Linked DNA regions of Homo sapiens: region 1 is linked to region 2. The links are contacts of gene promoters, found by promoter capture Hi-C in blood cells and fetal thymus (Javierre and others, 2016). All regions are on one chromosome and are shown on one strand. The core of a region is centred on a gene start or on the middle of the fragment in contact, and the rest is flanking DNA. Distances in the headings are between cores, read along the strand shown. Region 1 has its middle 27 kb from the start of TPRG1-AS1. Region 2 holds the start of MASP1 (MBL associated serine protease 1).

The links. The method cuts DNA at HindIII sites, captures the fragments that hold promoters and counts their contacts. A CHiCAGO score of 5 or more calls a contact.
Region 1: a contact is called between a fragment that was not itself captured here and the fragment with the promoter of MASP1 in region 2, in 5 of 17 cell types (naive B cells, total CD4 T cells, total B cells and 2 more). The highest score is 10.1, in naive B cells.

What each region holds. Positions count from the first base shown.
Region 1 is chr3:188,972,929-188,976,007 of GRCh38, forward strand. No RefSeq gene overlaps it. Among named protein-coding and RNA genes, the nearest start is that of TPRG1-AS1, 27 kb to the left of the region's middle. The HindIII fragment of the contact is 2,725 bases long and covers 342-3,066 here.
Region 2 is chr3:187,290,358-187,293,095 of GRCh38, forward strand. MASP1 (MBL associated serine protease 1) reads right to left here and starts at 1,380. Exons shown (of 11, transcript NM_139125.4): 1 at 1,271-1,380. The coding sequence starts at 1,275. It overlaps LOC101929130 (a long non-coding RNA gene), which reads left to right and starts at 915. Exons shown (of 2, transcript NR_135551.1): 1 at 915-1,179. The HindIII fragment of the contact is 4,632 bases long and covers 1-2,738 here.

The sequences.
Region 1 (3,079 bases), core at 454-2,953, 1.7 Mb after region 2:
GAAATTCTCTTCAGGACAGCATTAATATCTTTATTAAAGACAAAGCCCCAGTTAGGGGGCCTTTATCAAGACAAAAAGTGCAAATCCTGTCTTTAGTAATCGAAGGAGCATCCCCAAGGCAATAACCCAAGGAAGGCAGTGGTGACCCCAGAGACAGGCATATCTGGTGGTTTTGGAAGTTCAGAGGCAGGAGAAGTAACTTCAGCTGGGCGTTCATGGAGTGCTTCCTGGGGTAGGTTTCATTTAACTTAGATCTTTTCATTTAAGTTAGATCTTAAAAAGACACAAATTAACCTGGCAAAATGAGTGAGGGAGGCAGGCACAGCTCCAAGAAGGACTCAAGCTTCGTGTGCTAATGTCTACATCATTTGCTGATTACTATGGTTCCTCACTCAGAGCTTGAATAATTTTAGTTTACACAAACTGTTAATAAACTTGGCTACCTATAGATATATACAAGACCCAAAACAGCACATTTGATGAGGAAGAATGGGTTACAATAGGCAGGCCTACTAAAAAGGAAGACAAGTACAAGGTTGATGACTTGATAAGAAGAGAGGAGACAGAAAACAAGATAAACAGAACCCCTGCCGCGAATCCTCAGTCACTTAAAAATCACAGCAATCCGGATCGAGTGTGGAGTCAAGAGGTGCTTTAAATTTAGAGAGTCCTCTAGAATGTCATCATATATTATATTGCAGTGAAGAAAGTGACAGCCTACAGTGTGCCCCCTTGTGAAAGGCTAAATTATTTTCTTTATGCTTTGTCTTAGAAGATAGACAAATGCATAATCGATTTTAGAAATAGTTCCATCCTAATTGAGTTACAATGGAGTTTGTATTTAAACCATAAACCTTCAGTATTTGGAATGCTGCTCATCAGAGAAGAAATAATTTGGTTTGACTTTTAATAAATTCCAAAGTTCTGTGGATCACATTATGTCATACACTCTCATCCAAACTCCTGCTTATCGCGTCTATGCCTCCTCCACTCCTAAGGTTTCTTTTGCTTCTTCCTTGACTGAGGCTTTCTGCAACTCCCCTCTGGAGTCTGGCGCACGGAGCTCCTGCTGATGCTTCTTCTTCTGCATTTCCAATGTGCCAGTGAGGGGGCAGTGGGAGAAACTCTGAGGCAGGGGCTACTTGGATATGGGTCTTGGCTTCCAACCTAAAAGTTGGAAATTTTAGAAAAGTCCCTTCCCCTCTCTGAGCCCCTGTTTTCCCATTCAGAAAATAAGAATAATAACCCTTATTCGTGGAGCTATTGTGAAAAAAAAGGCATGAATGCATGTGAGCATGCTTAGTAAACTGGGCAGTGGTTCCATTCTCAATTCATGCAGAGCAATTATAACTACCCCCTCCCCTAGTTGTCATTTGCATGTGGACCTTTCTCTTTCCCTTGCTTGGTAATTGACTTGAGACTGTGTTTTCCCTGGTTTTTGTTTTGTGTTTGGTATCTCCCTGAGAAAAGCCTGTTTTGGGCTCTGCAGGTCATGTGTGTTGTGTGACCCTGGAGGAGGGACACTATTCATAGCTGATAATGTGAATAGGGTCCTCCACGGTTCTGTGATGTAGGGGTCCTGGCCATAGGGCCTAGCGTGCTGCTGTCTCTGTATGTATTAAACATTAGTGACTCTTTTTCTGTCCTTAATACTTAAGCCCTGTCCTGAGGCATAAAATATTACTGTGTACTGACCCTGAATTGAAAATTTTGCACTGTATTATTCAGCTTCAGGCCTAGCTTTCAATTTCCCATTTCATTTTCGACTGGACTACACTGGTCATTGCCTTGAGAGATTTTTCCCAGCCACAGAAGTCTTCTGGTGAAGACGGTCTTTAGACTGGCAGGGTTTCAAAGTAAATATAAGTAAAATAATTGGCAAGTCTGATATTTAGGCTTTGGTGTTTTAATCCCCAATTCTTTTGACACTGGGCACATCTCAACAGCCAGGCTTGGAAGTGGTGGTGGGGGAGAAGGACATCACAGCGTATTTCTGCTGCACTCTCCTCTTTCCACTCTCATCTGTATAAAGTCTTTGCAGCATCTGTGAAATATTGTGGTCTAACTGCTATTCGATTCTTGGTGGACTTCCGTTTCTTCCTCTGTGCACTGGGACTAATCATACCCACATCTGAGGGTTGCTAAGGAGTGACATGAGATGCTATGTGTATGCCTCCAGGCACAGAGCCAGACCCCTGTTAGGTGCTCACAAAAGCAATAGGTGAACATGAAACCATGGTGACAAACAGCCTGCTTCTCCTCTTCTCTGACAATGCTTGTCTAGATTGGGGAGCTCTGACATAAAACTTTCTGTCTTACAATGAGAGAACAATCTATCTATGTGTAACTTCCATCTATGAGACCCCTGGGCGAGGATGGTGTGTCTTCCCCTTTTCTTAGCGTTCTCACTCTGTCCCGTAGTGAGGACGGACAACAGAGAGCTGCTGTGGTCAGCGAGCCGAGGAGCCAGACAAGGCTCTGTGGTTACGTACTTATTTAGTTTCTTATTTATTACTTTTGCAGTTAACATTTTTTACAATCATGTTATTTTGTGGTTTATTTGCAAAATGCATTGTGAGCCAAGTTTGCTTCAAATGTGCTCTGAGTCAGAAAATGGTTACATAGGGGACCCAGAGAGATGGGAGGGGAGGGTAAAGAGCAGCTGCAAGAACATCATATAATAGATATATCAGTTATTGCTCCTTGCTTTGTAATTAGGCTACTCAAGGTAGACGGAGAAATGGAAACAATGCATAATAGGCTCATGTGCGGCAGCGTGAACAGACTCTTCTGCCTCAGAAGTCAAATGCAAAGGGGCCAGCCTGGGACTTGGGGAAGAGAACCCTGGAGAGAGCTTCACTCCTGCTTAACCACCCATGAGCACCAAAGCAGCATCTTTGAAAATCTTTGGGAGACAACAGTAGAGCTTGGTTAGAGAGGCAAAAGTGACGGATAATGAATTAACTCATAAATACTATTAGAGGGTTTATTATAAATTGTTTTTGAAGATTTTAATAGAAACGAAAACCTAGTTTTCAGAGATTAGCTGAAATAAGTCCCAAGAGAAGCTTTGCCAGAA
Region 2 (2,738 bases), core at 130-2,629:
ATACAGAATTGTTACTCAGCCAAGTAGTTTGATATGGGCTGGGGCACTGAATGGTAGGGTGGGATTCAGACCAGATCATTGACAGATAAATGAGATTATCATTCAATGTAGATTGACATAAATCACTTTTTTTTGGAGAAAGAAAAATGATGTTTAATGGCAGGTTTAAAATTACTATGGCTTTAAGAAGAACAGAATTATTGCACTCACTTTTTAAGGACCTGGTTATCTCTCTGAACCACAGGTAATCGGAGTTCAAAGAGTTAACATAGTCTGAAGCCTCTCATTGGTCTCAGGTCCAGAAAAGTTGCTAGGTTACTTTGCAGAAGAGAAACAAATAAAAACACTTTCCCAAGTGAAAAGAAAATTAATAGTAAAAGATGTGTTTAGGGACTTACACATCTGCAGAGCATTGTGTGTGTGTGTGTGTGTGTGTGTGTGTGTAACAGCATTAACACTTAACTAATAAAAATAACTAGGGTGGTTGGGTTTTCAGACTTGCAGGATAGAACTTGTATGAAAGGTCTGGTAAGGAGTGTCAAGTATAATGAGGAATAAGAAAGGTTAAAGAGTTTAAAACCAATTAGAATTTGAAGTTCTTGATTTCAGAACTCTAAAATCCTTTTTTTTTTTTTAAGTATGATATCTCTTTAAGAGCCATTTGGTGTACTTCATAGCCTGATTCATGCCACCAGCTGCCTCTGATTTCAATGAGAAATGCAGAAAATTTATAGGGAACTGTAAAATGGGGACAGATTTTTAGTTTTCTAAATTGAGGTTTAACTGGCAAACTTGTAAAGGTTGAAGAAACCACAGAGCCAAGCTATGGGAAGCTGGTTTCTTTTCTGGTCAGAAGGAATGAACACACAAACACATATCTAACTCACAAAGTGCTGGAAGAGAGAAAGCAATGCTCTTTCCAGAGGAGGAACACGGAAAAATCAGCCTTGTGGGTGAACAGGAGGAGAGTCACATTCGCCAGCAGGCAGCACCCTGTGCAGGCAGTGGGAGAAATCTGAGCTTCAGCAGCGTCCGGAGCAGGATTTGCACGAAGTCTCCCGTTTCAAGTTTTATGTCTCCTGGAGTCCTGGGGAAGGCACCCAGCCCACCCACAGCTCCCTTCTCAGAGCCCTAAGAATTGATGAGAAAGCCCCTCACTACCACATGCAGGACACGCAGGTGAGTCTGTCAGTGACAAGGTCAGACCTTCCCTGCTATTTGACACTGGTCCCCAAAAGGGAACCGTGCCCTCTCCTCCCCTGGCACGTACCTCATTTTCCTGCCTTGGGTGCTCCCGGCTGCCCGGCCTTGGTCCTCCCAGCTTGACTTGCCTGTGAGCTCGTGCCCGGTGTGGTGTCCGTGATGCCTTATCTTTGTTCTGAGGTCCCTGTGTGTCTCTGGAATTGGCTGGCATTCTCCATTCAGGTCACGCCTTCCCCTGCCTGCAACAGATCCCCTCTCCCCCTCTCTCCCTCTGGCTTTTCCTCTCTCCTCTCTCTCTCCTTTGACTTGCTCTTGCACTCCCAGGAACCTGACAACAAAATCTGTCTTCCTACCGAAAAGATCTGCTCCTTCCCTTCCCTCCTTTATCCTGTGTGGCTGACTTCAGCCCTTGAGAGAAAATAACTGAGGGGCTCAAGCAGGTATTTGTATCACTCTGTGTGTGTGTGTGTGTGTGTGTGTGTGTGTGTAGAGAGAGAGAGAGAGAGAGAGTGAAAGGGGACAAAGTCTAATTTCTCTTTAGTCTTTTTTGCCAGATGACTATAATTTTCTGCTTTTCTTCAGGACACCCATGAAAGAAAAGCAATTAAATAGAAACAACCAACTAAGAAGGCAATTCTAGCACCTACACTAGAAGAAAAAAAAAAGGTCTAAATCCCAGAGCGTCTGTCTGCAAATAACTACAGGTTTCCTTGTGAGCAGAGCCCCAAATAACTACAGGTTTTCTCGTGATCAGAGTCACACACAACGACAGGTTTTCCTGTGAACAGAGCCACGGGCCCGGAACTGGGGAAGCACCAAGTCCTGAAGTTGGCTGGTTGTTCCTCCCCATGAGCAATACCTGTGGCACTGTTTACTTGCTCGGAGTGTGTGCGGCTCTACTCCAGCCCAGAAAGGGCCCATCGCAGCAAGAAATCTCACCTCCCCAGGGGTGTAGAAAGACCTGGGCCTGTATATATGTCTATACCCATGGCTTCCGGAGAAATCAACACTAGATCTAAGATGAGCTGAATAATAAGAAAATTACCCCCTCCACAACAACAACAACCAACACTGAATAGGGAGAGGTGTATCTGGGTGTAAAAGTTAAGTTTGACTGTGCACCTTTTCTGTGTTAGACACAGTACTAGTCATTAACATCATCTCAAGTTACTTTTGCAAACTGGTGAAAGTGCTGCTGTTATACTCATTTTACAAGTGAGGACACTAAGGCTCAGAGAGAATATGCCACTTGCCAAGATCATCCAGTTATTTATGACTCCCCACTGCCACTAGCACTAGAAGCTAACAGCTATTGAGTGCTACGTGTCAGGCACTGCTCTAAGCACTTAATATATGAATTCTTTTCAGTCATCTTTATATGTTGTATACATGGCTGGCAATATTCTCATTTTTCAGAGGAAATTGCCCAGAGAGGTTAAGTAACTTTCCCAAGTTCACACAGCTAGAAAGTAATAGAGGCAGAATTTGAAGTGTTAGCCACTGTATTACACTGCTACTCATTAACATTTTATAAT